Linked DNA regions of Homo sapiens: region 1 is linked to region 2. The links are contacts of gene promoters, found by promoter capture Hi-C in blood cells and fetal thymus (Javierre and others, 2016). All regions are on one chromosome and are shown on one strand. The core of a region is centred on a gene start or on the middle of the fragment in contact, and the rest is flanking DNA. Distances in the headings are between cores, read along the strand shown.

Region 1 (6,051 bases), core at 1,670-4,169, 430 kb after region 2:
CTCTCCAAGAAAAGGCCAACGGACTCCGCCGTTCCTCCAGTTCTTTCCCCTCTCCCACTCCTCCCAGTAGGCTGAGTCCACTCCCTGCAGCAATCCATCACCCTCAACACGCCCGTCCACCCACACCCCCACCTCCCCGCTCCTGAGCGGCACCCACACACATGGACGGTCCTCGGTTCATCTCGCCCTAGGTCTCCAACGCCCATCTGGAGCTTCCAGGGTGCGCCCGGATCCCAGCCCCGGCCGCCTCCTCCCGCCACCCGGGCCAGAGCTGCCTGAAGAGCAAGCCGGTGTCCTCGGCAGCCCCGCCCCGGGCTCTGAGGACTAGATCTCATCCCTAAACGAGGTCAGAGGACCACGGACCTCAGACTCACCTGGGAAACTGGTCACAAATACAAATTCCTGGGCCCCATCCAGAACTGCCGAATTATTCTGGCGGTGGAACCCGAAACCCGCCCTGCCTGCAGCCCCTCCGGCGAGCCCGAAACGGTACAGACCCAGGGCCCCGTCCGACGCCCGACCCCTCGCCCCAGTGCCCCCGAACGTGGCCGCCACTCTGCTTTGAACAGCGAAGGAACTCGAGACAGAGCCGAGCTGGGCTGCGGCCAGCCCACGGCCAGTCGGCGGAAGGTCGGGGGCCCCAGGCTCTTGCGCGGCCCCACAGACCCTTGCGTCAGAAGAGTGGCCCCCCGCGCCATGGGCTCTGCGGCCAGGAGGCCACGTGCGACGTCGCTCAGGCCGGAACACGTGGCTCCAGCAGAAGCCACATCTGGATTCTACACGTGCTGGGCTGCGGGCGAGGTTCTTCCACACCACAGGCGTCTTCTTGCCACCCAGGAGACCTGGGCCGGCAGCTTCCCTGCAGTGCGGGGCCCACGGGCTCCCCGCAGTGGGGAGTGCGAGAAACGCAACTGCGACCTCGCCGCGCACTCCGCTTCCGCCATTGGCTCAGGATCCCTGCGTGGAGCGAGGGCGCCACGCTGCGACTGCAGCAGGGACGGCACGTCCCAGGGGAGAGCGCGGGAAATATGGTGCGTGAGGTCCCAATTTCCAGGTTCCCTCCCACCTCAATGACTCGTTTTATAGCCGCCCCCTCAGGCTGACCTCTACCCTAGACCCCGTCTAACTAATCGCTAATCCCCTGACCTCAGGAAGGCCAGGGATGAGAGTCACAGGCCAATGCCTCTGGGCAGCCATAGGAAGTGAGGAAATGCAGACCCCAAATTTTCCCCTAAATCCTAGAAATATGCTCCAGATAAAAGTCTTTGCCTGGGTTCAGATTCTAGACTCCTGTCCTTCATTCCAGAAATTTCAGCACCATAGAATCACTGGCAAGTCTCGGACAGTATTCAGGCCCACTGCCATGGTGGCTTCCTATCAAAAATATTCTCATTTGTCACTGACCTTAGCAGGGGAAAAGACCTCAGAATTGGACCCAGTGCTCAGAGGTGGCCTGACCATCTCAGAAAGCAGTGGGGTAACACCTCCCTTGATCTGGCTGCTCCGTTTGGTTAATGCAATTCATGGCTGTGTTAGGATTTTAGCAGTCACATCACACAGTTGACTCATATTGAGCTTGCAGTCAACTAAACCCCCCAGGTCTTTTCTTCATGAACTGCTGTCAAGCTGGGCCAACCCCTACAACCGGTACTTATGTCATTGATTTTGTTTTAACCTAAGTGCAGGACTCTACATTTATCCCTGTTAAGTTTAATCTTGTTGGTTCCAGCCCAGTGTTCCAGCCTGTTGAAATCGTTTTGAATCCTGACTCTTTCATGCAAAGTATTAACTGCCCCTCCTAGCTCTATCACCTGCAAACTTGATGAGCCTGCTGCTTCGGTCAGTTGTCAATAAAAATGTCAGAGAGGACACAGGCCCAGACTGAGCCCTAAGGCATACTGCTGGAGACTTCCCTCTAGTCTAGGCTGACATGGATCCATTAATCAACCCTCACTGGGTCTGACTGTTCACCAAGCTTCCTAGCCATTTGGTTCAGATGCTTCTGCCACAACTAGATAACATGAGAGGCTTTGTCAGAAATTTGTCAGAGGCTTTGCTGGAAATTTCTCTTGCCCAGGCTGTGGCCCCCACATCAAGCTTAGGCCTTCTTTCTACCCTCCACACCCCACCATCATTTGTTTACTCATAACTTTAGGGGATTATATTTCCAATGGTGCCCCCTCCTGCATGACTTAATATTTCTGAGCTTCAGGATCACCTTGGGTGTGCCTTTGCTATTTCATATCCCATCATCCTATGCCTCCTCTGAGACCTCATTCTCTTAAATTCTCTGTCCTGCCACCTTCTCTGCCTATAAATGTGCAGTGGCCTCCCTTGCCTAAAAAGCTCTCTACTAGCTGCCCCCTTAAACTGTGGTTGGCTTCTGCCTCTGTCCTTCTTTTGAAAATCCAAACACTTCCAAACTCACCTTTCATGTCTCCTAAGCCTTTAGCAATCTGGGCTGCCAATCTCTCAGCTGAGCAACCATATTGCCCAAGCAGTGGACAGTGATGGTGGAGATAGAAGCAGAAGATTCACAACCACATCACAAAGATCAGATATGGTGGCTGCATAAAGCAGAGAGCCCAGGACCCCTCACAGACCAAAGTCAGGCTGCGGTCAAACTAGGCAGGTGACCAGAATGTTCAAAAGGACTGAGACATGAGGTCAGAGCCTAGGCAAAGTGCCTGGTCACAGACAAGAGCAGTGAACACTGAGAAGCCTGAGCCTGGGGACTTCTTACACAGTTGCTATAGGGGTTGGAATCAGTCCTGGAGCCAGGTCAGCTGGGAAGACAGCCTGGCTGGAGGGGGGAATGATGTGAACAGAGAGAGGTAGGGCCTACACTTTTCCTGAGCCCTTATTCTAGGCTGCCCAGCATCAGTTGTTAGCAACTCCAGAGTGCCTCAAGTTCAGGGCCATACCCTCAAATATCTATGTGGGCCAGACAGGTCACGTGAGTGAGATCTAGGGTACAACAGTGAAGAGTGGAGATTGACAAACTGAAAGGAACACAGCCAAGGGGGCAGTTGCTCTTCAGCTCCAGCCAACTGCTGTCACATGGGAAAGGCGATTTCATTACTGCCAGATCTGATTTTCCAAAGAGAGAAATCTTTTTAGGTCAAGTTTCTGATCTTTAATGTTGTCAATTTTTTAAAACTTTCAAAAACTTGTATTGGCCAAACAAAACCATGTCTGTGGCCGACTGGACTAGCGGTGGCCATCTTTTAACGGCTGCTAGTTACGTGGTACTTGTAGAGGCTAAGTGACTTGGGTGTGTGGTAATATTACATTTAGAACCCACTCTCTGAGTTTCTTAATGTCAATGAGAGTGACTTTGGGTTATATAGAAACAATTTATATTCATAAATTACTTTGGTTAAAAAATATATTCAAGGCCAGGCACAGTGGCTTATGCCTGTAATCCCAGAACTTTGGGAGGCTGAGGCAGGACTGCTTGAGCCCAGGTGTTCGAGATCCGCCTGGGCAATGAAGTGAGGCCCCTGTCTCTACAAAAAATAAAAAATTAGCCAGGTGTGGTGGCATGTGCCTGTGATCCCAGCTACATGGGAGGCTGAGGCAGGAGGATCACTTGAGTCCAGGAGGTTGAGGCTGCAGTGAGCCATGCTTGCCCCACTGCACTCCAGCCTGCGTCGAAAAGCAATGCCCTGTCTCAGAAAAGAGCAAACTATTCACCTCTTCAAAGTTACATATCCAAAATCCTCTCTTTTCTAAGCTTTTAAGTTCTGCTAACAAATCTTATTATTTTGCTTATAAAACAAAAAAGTTTAATGTTTGATCCAACTTACATTTAACTAAACTCCTTTAAACACTTAAATGGCATTTATATGATTAATGTATTTGATTTCCTTAAGTACTTAATTTATCTGACCAAGACAAAACCTGATCAAGTACTTATATTTCCAATAAATTAAGTTTATAAATACAGGAAATCTTAAGTTGTTCTAAATGTTCTAAAACTACAGAAAGACTTAGCAATGATTGTACCACTGTACTCCAGCCTGGGCAACAGAGTGAGACTCCGTCTCAAAAAAAAAAAAAAGAAACTTAGCAAAATTTCAACTTAAAATTCGAGTATAAATACACACTTTTTAGTTGGCATTACAAAGCAAACCTGTTACTCTCACAAATGCTCTTCCATATGTCAAGGACTTAAAATACAAACTGCATAGATCCTTACAGCAAATAGTAATGATGTGGGGGTTTGATGTTTTTAAACACACCTGTTCTTCATCCTAAGTCCTCCATCATTAAAAGATGCACACCTACCAAGGAAACACCTGATGCCACTGCATGTATTTTGGAGGTTATCTTCTCAGATGACTGAGATTGCAGAACAACCAGATATGTTGGTTGGGCCACTGACTAGACTGTGAAAGGACCCAGAAAGTGCTATTTGTGGCCTCATAAAGCCCTATCACATGGCCTCCATTACATAAAAAGGCAGTCAGTCAGCTCACATCCCTGAGTTTGACGCTATTCAGGGCCTAACTGCACTTTCTCACAGAAGTCTAGAATCCCATCTAGGCTGTCAGATACCTTGTCTCAGTGGCAAATTTCCTTGGCTGTCAAAACACAAAATGTCTTCTCATCTTGATGATTTCTGCTTTTTATTTCTAGGTGAACCACTGCTCTTAAGAGTGTTTGTTTTTTCAAGAGATGGGGTGTCACTATGCTGCCTAGGCTGATCTCAAACTCCTGGCCTCAAGCTTCCTCCTGACTCAAGCCTCCCAAAGTGTTGGGATTACAAGTGTGCACGACTGTGCCTAGCAACTCTTAAGTTTTTCAGATGAAACCTGGTTGAATGCAGGATTGCTGTAACAACTTTGACTTCTGGTCACAATTCCTAAGGTTCTCCTGACAGAATGCTGGCCTCCTCACCCTTAGTTCAGGGTCTTGTCCTCCGCTCCTCATTGCCTATCATCGTTTAGCTTTCCCCTCTAGAACACCCATCTTCTTTCTTGAGACTCTCACCTCTTAGCATCACCCTTTCTGCACCACACCCCCATGCCAACGATTCCCAGAGGTCCCTACTCCATCTCCAGTACTGTGGAGTCCTGCTCCCTTCTCCATGATTCTTCCCCATTCACACTCATGCTCCCTCTTACAGAACTGATCTCTCCTCAGAAAAGGGAAATCTGATGTTACTTGTTCACACTAAGACATGCACAGTTGAGTCCTCCTGTTTATGCTGGGTAAACGATGCTTCCTAAGAAGAAATGGAGGAAAAGAAACTAACATTTACTGAGCACTTACTAGGCACTAAGTTCTGAATTAACTTAGTTAGTTAATGAGTTGTCTCATTCATTCTCAATAGCCACATAAGAGGACCTATTAAGAAATCCAGGGCCAGGTGTGGTAGCTCGCACCTGTAATCCCAGCACTTTGGGAGGCCAAGGCAGGCAGATCACCTGAGGTCGGGAGTTCGAGACCAGCCTGACCAACATGGAGAAACCCCATCTCTACTAAAAATACAAAATTAGCCAGGCATGGTGGCGCACGCCTGAGTCCCAGCTACTCGGGAGGCTGAGGCAGAATTGCTTGAACCTGGAGGAGGTGGAGGTTGCAGTGAGCCAAGATCACGCCACTGCACTCCAGCCTGGGCAACAAGAGCGAAAACTCCATCTCAAAAAAACAAACAAACAAAATCTCCCGAAACCCCCACTCCCAATATCTCAACAACCAGCATTTATATAGTGCTCAGTTTACATAGTATTTCCACACACATTGGCAGGTCATCATATTATTAACCAATTTTTTTAAATGAGGGGACCGAAGCATAGCGAGATGAACACCCCCAAAGGCACCCAGCCTGTGCAAAGTCCACTGACATTCTCACTTAGGTTCACTGGCCAGAAGCTTGTGTTCTCTCCACTCAGCCACACTGTGTCCTCCACAGACATCCTCCTGCCCCATTTCCTTTACTCTTCTGGGAATCAGATGGCAACCCAGAACCAAGGTCTCTGTTCCTGTTCCTCAAGACCCTGCCCTATTAAACCCTTTCTGTCCCCAGCCCAGCACTTCATGGAC
Region 2 (6,446 bases), core at 324-2,823:
TTCCTCGGGGTAGAGTAAGGGTAGGCAGCCCCGTGGACTGGTTCAAGGCCAGGCTGTCAAGCTCACGACTCGTCAGTACCACCTCAGCATCTCGACGACTAATCAGTGGTAATCCAAACAGATTGTGGTAGGCGCTGGGTCGGGGAATAGTGGTTTCCTCGTAGCTCACTCCATCCCCCTGGCATTTAGCCTCTAGGAGCTTCAGGCCTCGTAATCCTGAGCCCCCAGGGGAGAACCAAGGGAAGACAAGACTGCGAGCAGGTCGCAGATATCGCACACTGAAACGCTTGAGTGTGTCATCTGTAACCTTGGTAAGGCCAAACATTGTATCAGCCAGCTGAACCTCCTCCTGATCAGGCAGCTCCCAGAGAGGTATTGCTCGGTTCCAGATCCTCCGGACCTCCTCGCTGTCCTCAAATTCTGGTGCCTTGCTAAGCAGAAACCCCTCCCTGGCCCCATCCCCTCGCCCCTCCACGCTGGCCTGGAAGTCTTCCCAGCTCCCTTCTGCTAGGCTGGTCATGCAGAGAAAGTGGCCTGTGGTCTTGTCAATGAAGAGGCTGAAGGAAGTGGTAACACCAGTCTGGCCTTTGAGCTGTGAAGACTCTGCAAAGGGGCTCAGTGCCCGCAGGCAACTGTGACCATCCTGGAAGGGGATCCCATGCCCCCGCAAATACTGGCGGATTTCAGTTGCAGTTACAGGCAACACTGGCATATCCAAGGCTTGGAGAGTCTCCTTCCTGTAACGTCTGCGAGGAGGGCCTGGGGCCAAGTTTCGGGGCAGGCCCCTCCGACCCATCCACTCCCCACGCAGGGGTAACAAGATACGGAGGGGGTACCCACTTCGGAGGAGGACCCACATTCCTAGCCAAATGTGGGAAGTCACTACTTGAAATGCCTTAGGTGCCTGGTTAGCGTGCCTTCACTAGACCAAACTCTAGGGATATCCCACGCAGCACTCTGCAGAGCTCACTCTAGGTGCATTCTTTCTCTCCATGAATTTCTCCTCTTCAGCCCCTCTACGTTGCTGCTTCACACATATGCCCATCTACACGACCCTTTCGCGTCCACGTCCTTCTACAATGGCTCCCCCACCTCTATGGTCCGTTAGTTAGTTTCTCTCCGCCACCTCACCTCTATGACCCTCTATACAGTTCCTCACTGACACAGTTTCTTTGCATCATCTTCTCACCTCTACTGCTCCTCCACAGCATCTCCTCGTCGTCCTCATTTCTATAGTCATCTGCATCCTTTTTGTAGTCCCTTTGCCCTAGGCCCCGACTAGAGACCCTCTTCCGCTTCTCCTTCCCCTCACTGGGACCTCAACACGGCGAGAGCACCCAGCACGACTCCCGCCAATCCCCCGGCCCAAAGGAATGCCAGTCTCTATCCTCCCCCGTGTCTTCACTCCGCTCTACTACTCCGAGCTCCGCCGCGCCGGCCCCCAGCCCCAGGTTACCACTTTTCTCTCTCCCACTTCGCCGGCAACGTGAGTCTCCCGCACATGCTACTCGCCTTGACCTCGGAAGCAAAACTCCGGGAGCGGTCGTCCCGGAACCGGAAGCCTCGAGGTTTAGTCCCGCCCCCCTCTCCTCGCTGCTTAGGCTCCGCGGCCTCCAAGCTGTAGCTATGACGGCGCGCGGGACTCCGAGCCGCTTCTTGGCCAGCGTTCTCCACAACGGACTGGGTCGCTATGTGCAGCAGCTGCAGCGTCTGAGCTTCAGCGTCAGCCGCGACGGCGCCTCGTCTCGCGGCGCCAGGTGAGCCAAGGGAAGTGCGCAGGCGCGGGTCGGGGTGGGTGTGGAGGTGGCAACGACTCCCCGGGTAGGTCGCCCCCAGTCAGGGGTCATACTGCTCACTGTCCCGGGTCGCTTAGGGAGTTCGTGGAGCGGGAGGTGATCGACTTCGCCCGACGGAATCCAGGGGTCGTAATATATGTAAACTCGCGTCCGTGCTGCGTGCCCAGAGTAGTGGCCGAATACCGTGAGTGGGGCCGGGCTCGGGCTGGAGGGCGGGATCAGGGGCTCGACCCGCTATCCTCCTTCTCGCTTGGTCGCACCGGCCAGCTTCCACCCACTCTCACCCCTCTTCTGCCAGTTAACGGGGCTGTGCGCGAGGAGAGCATCCACTGCAAGTCGGTCGAGGAGATCTCGACGCTGGTGCAGAAGCTGGCCGACCAGTCGGGCTTGGACGTGATCCGCATCCGCAAGCCCTTCCACACCGACAACCCTAGCATCCAGGGCCAGTGGCACCCCTTCACCAACAAGCCGACCACGTTCCGCGGGCTACGCCCCCGAGAGGTTCAGGATCCTGCCCCAGCCCAGGTGCAAGCACAGTGAAGAGTTGCCCCACCAACTGCAGCCCCAGGCTTTGGACTGTTACTCCGGTAAAGGTGGTTCTTCCCCTTTGGGATTCCAAGCCCAGGCAAATGGAACCCATCAATGGGCAAGTTGACAGAGGTTCTGCTTGGGATAATGAAGAGCTGCCTGTTTCTTTCCAGTGCCTGCTTCTGGGGGCAGTGACCTTGTGAACCACTCATTTTTATGCAAGTGGCATCCCTAAAACCTGAGATGAGGAAGACTTCAAGGGTTTTACAGGGCCCTTGTTTTTTAAATCCAAATTGATAATAATGATCTCAAAACACAGTGAGAGGTCTGAAGGCTGGCTTCTGAAGAATCCCTGATGTCTTATTGGAACAACCACTGAGCTACGGAGAGCTCTGCTGTGATGGGCTAGGCACTTTATATCTGTGTGAATACAGATTTATAAAACAGGTTAATAAACTTATCCAAGGTCACATTTCAGGTCTGTCTTCAAAATGTGTGCATATGTTAAGCACAAGCCTCAGTTTTCATTATTTTAAAACTAGACGCAGAACATATAACAACTGTCAGGTGGTTAGTATCAAAGGCCAAGTGATTAATCTAGGCCTGACCCCTGAAAGGGAGAGGGGAGTGATTCTCAGACCAAGTCCTGGCTGACAAGCTTTCTCTGGTCTTAGCTATACATCTCCTTCCCCCCACGTCCCTCTTTGTGCAGAAATAAAATCCATGTCCCTTGAGCCAGCTGGTGGGGGGTGCTGAGAACCTTGGGGAAGGGCAGGAAGGCTGATATTAATGAGTATTTTCTAATCTTAGTTTAAAAAGGGGGGATGGTGGGGAAATGAGAGGCAGGAAATGAAAATCTAGAAACCCCTGTAAGAATTCTTGAACTGTTGTCATTTTCTTGTCATGCCCTAACACCATGATCAATGAATAGTGTGAACCTTACTAAAGAGGCCTGTGTGCCTGCCAAGGAGTCAGGATGGAAGCGGAGGATCCCAATTTCCTCTGCAAATAGTTGTATTGGGGAGCAGAGCCAATCCTGGAGGCAGATATCACCTTCTGTATAGGCTCAGGAGCCTGTCCCCTGGTGATCAGGGGTGGGCGCATCTAGATGAAGCAGACTAGTCATAGCTGTGGGGAAAAAGGGTGTTTATTAACCAACGGCAGGGGGAGGAGCTGAGCCCAGGCTCCCCACTCTGTCACATGCCTGTTCCACCCACCTGGTTGTAAGTGGGGGCATTCCTAAAGAAGTGTAGCCATTCTCACAATAAATACATTCATTGTGGGGTGGAGGTGGGAGAGGTTGGGTGAAGGGCAGTAAAAACCCGTGGGATTCCACGTTCTCAGCTACAAAAATAACAGTCATCCTCACCCGAGGGGAATGGGGGAGCTCAGTCAGAATTGATTGTCCCATATAGGCCTAGAGACTTCAGAGGCCCCTGGCCCCTGAAAGTGCCCCGGTGAGGTAGGACAGGGGTAGGAGCTAAGCGTCCAAACTCCCAGCCTCTGCCCTTTGCATAGTTCCAAGAATGGGCTTCATGTGCCAGTTGAGACATCAGATTTCTCCTCCCTTTCCCTGCTGTAGTCTAGAGGAAGCAAATGCTTGATTCCCCCAAAAGAGAGGCTGGCTCATTGAGTGCAGTGTTGGTCATCCATCCTAGGCAAGGGCCTGTGAGGACAGTTAAATGGGAGGGGGATCTCCCTCTGAAATGTCCACGGACTAAACCCAACAGACAGGTCCAAGACAGCAAGGGAGGCTCAGAGGTGCATGTGAGTGGAAATGTAAGCACATGTGTGATACAGGTGTGTGTTACCACATGTGCATGGGGATGGGACATGCCTGGAGCTCTGTCTCTCATACTCTTGAGAATGACCAAGGAGAGTGGGGAGGCTGATTCACAAGGGCCACACAGGAAGGGAGAGGAGGGGAGTGATGCAGTCTTACCTCCCCAGGCTGGCCCGTTCCCAAGCTCTTGACAAAGAGGTCACCACATGGGGCTGGGGAAGAGGACCAGATAGGATGTGGCAATTGGGAGGGTACCCCAAGTCCAGAAGCAGGGATGAAACAAGAATGCACCAGGAGAAGGTGAGGGTGGGGGCACTGCAGCCCAGCCGATAAACATTCTTCCATGTGTGCATGTGAATGTACGCAGGGCTTAGGTGGCTGGCAGAGGTCTTGTCTGGTTTCAGGACCATCCAGCACACAGGGCCATGCAGAGGGTGGTGACATTGAGCCCATATGGACCTGCAGAGCCCTGCCTGGGAGAAAGAGAAAGGGTTTGGGCAGATGAATGGAACAGGAGGATGGAGTCCTCACCTATAAGTGTTTAGGTTAGGGGATAGGAACTGGCTCTGGGTCTGCAGGGCACCTGATCCTGAGGGAGCACCTACCTCTGAGGAGCACCGATGGGCCTGGGCTGCTCACATGTGGGTCTGTGGAGACTGAGGAGGGGGCTTTGGCTGGGCCTGACTGGCCAGCCCTACAGGGACATCAAAAAGTTGGGAGAAGGGTATGGAGTGGGGGTAATGAAGGGAGGGTGGCTGTGTTAGGGAGGCAGTGGCCCAGCCTGGGACAGATAGGCTGGCTTGGAAGAGCATTTGTTCTGGGAGGCTGGGCTCAGACAGAGCTCTCATCTAGCTGCTCCACGAGCTGCGTGTGCTTCCTTTTTTCCAGGATGCGGCTGAGTTCCTCGGCGAAGGAGCAGGGCCCTGCTGGTACTCCATTGTTGCTCTGCCTCAGAAGCACATAGCTATTGCCATTCATCCTCCGCAGCCGGCTGGGCAGTGCCACCAAGCCATTGGTCAGCTCAGCCGGTGGCGGTGGGGGCGGTGGGGGTGGTGGGGCTGGGGCTCCCTCCCCAGGGATGATCTGGAGACAGCTGCCCTCCAGGCCCCCAGCCCCCTCATCATCACCCTCATCTTCCTCTCCAGGACACTGGCCTGAGACTGTCTGCAGTTGCACCGCAGATCCTCCTGCCCGGCTGGCCCGACCCAGTGAGTATTTCCGTCGGCGCCCTCGTCTGCCTTCCCGCAGACAGGCCACATAGAGGAGGGAGGAGGCCAGGATGAGGCAGAGGCCACCAAGCGCGGCAATGGCTAGCACATAGAGCAGTCTCACATCAGGTGCCAGCTGTGCCCCAGGTGTGGCAGGGGCTTTTGGAGCTGGGGCAGGAGTGGCTGGCCGGACTGTGAGACTATAGGAGGCCAGCAGGGTGCGGAGGCCATTTTCCTCGGCATAGCAGCCATAGTTGCCACTGTGCTCAGGCTGTGCATCTGTAACCAGCAGCCCGTCCACGCCCACACGGTAGCCACCCTGCCCATCGCTCAGGCCCATGCTCCCATTGAGTAGCCACAAGGCCCGGGCCAGGTTGGATGGCTGGTCACAGGGCAGGAGGACATCATCACCCCGGAGCACAGAGCGGGTCTTCAGTGGTGGTGGTGGCCCTGTGGGGTTTGGGGGAGAGGTCAGTACCAGCCCGTCCCAGGAAGGGATTAGAGATGGCAAGCCAGACTGTTCACTGCCAAGTCCCTGGCACCAAGCACAGAACCCAGAATCACAGTGACAGCTGACCCAGGCTCTGTGCTCATGCTTCCACAGAAGGTTCACGTTGGCCCTTCCCAGGAAGCAGGCAGTGCCTTGGGCCCTTTTCCATTCTCTCTCCATGCTCTCATCCTCTCCTGTGGTTTCAATTTCTGCCATCTGCCAGTAACTCCTAATCTCTACCTCAGACTTCTCTCCTGAGTGCCAGACTCGGATATCTACCATGTGCTGGGCATCTCCACATGAGGTCTCTTGGACACCTCAAAACCAAAGCTTTTCTCCCCAACGACACCAAGTCCTTTCCTTGAATCGCCACCACTGTGAATGGCACCACCAGCCACACAGTTGCTTAAGTCAGAAACCTGGGAGTCTCCCTTCTCTTTCTTGCTCGCCTTTTTGTTTTGTTTTGTTTTTTTGAGACGGAGTCTCATTCTGTCGCCTAGGCTGGAGTGCAGTGACGTGATCTCAGCTCACTGCAACCTCCACCTCCCTGGTTCACGCGATTATCTTGCCTCTGGCTCCTGAGTAGCTGGGATTACAGGCATATGCCACCATGCCCAGCTAGTTTTTGTATTTTTAGTAGA

The links. Contacts are between HindIII fragments. The CHiCAGO score rates a contact against its expected background, and 5 or more counts as called.
Region 1: a contact is called between a fragment that was not itself captured here and the fragment with the promoter of MRPL43 in region 2, in 4 of 17 cell types (fetal thymus, naive CD4 T cells, activated CD4 T cells and 1 more). The highest score is 7.1, in fetal thymus.

Annotation. Positions count from the first base shown.
Region 1 is chr10:100,557,061-100,563,111 of GRCh38, reverse strand. HIF1AN (hypoxia inducible factor 1 subunit alpha inhibitor) reads right to left here. Exons shown (of 8, transcript NM_017902.3): 8 at 3,114-6,051. Among named protein-coding and RNA genes, the nearest start is that of HIF1AN, 24 kb to the right of the region's middle. RefSeq lists enhancers at 1-564, 567-616, 727-806, 565-1,203. The HindIII fragment of the contact is 1,639 bases long and covers 2,100-3,738 here.
Region 2 is chr10:100,982,624-100,989,069 of GRCh38, reverse strand. It overlaps MRPL43 (mitochondrial ribosomal protein L43), which reads left to right and starts at 1,573. Exons shown (of 3, transcript NM_032112.3): 1 at 1,573-1,757; 2 at 1,874-1,980; 3 at 2,095-2,801. The coding sequence starts at 1,627. The coding sequence ends at 2,336. It overlaps TWNK (twinkle mtDNA helicase), which reads right to left and starts at 1,527. Exons shown (of 5, transcript NM_021830.5): 1 at 1-1,527. The coding sequence starts at 859. It overlaps SEMA4G (semaphorin 4G), which reads right to left. Exons shown (of 15, transcript NM_017893.4): 15 at 3,454-5,765. The coding sequence ends at 4,939. RefSeq lists an enhancer at 1,745-1,814. The HindIII fragment of the contact is 4,949 bases long and covers 1-2,984 here.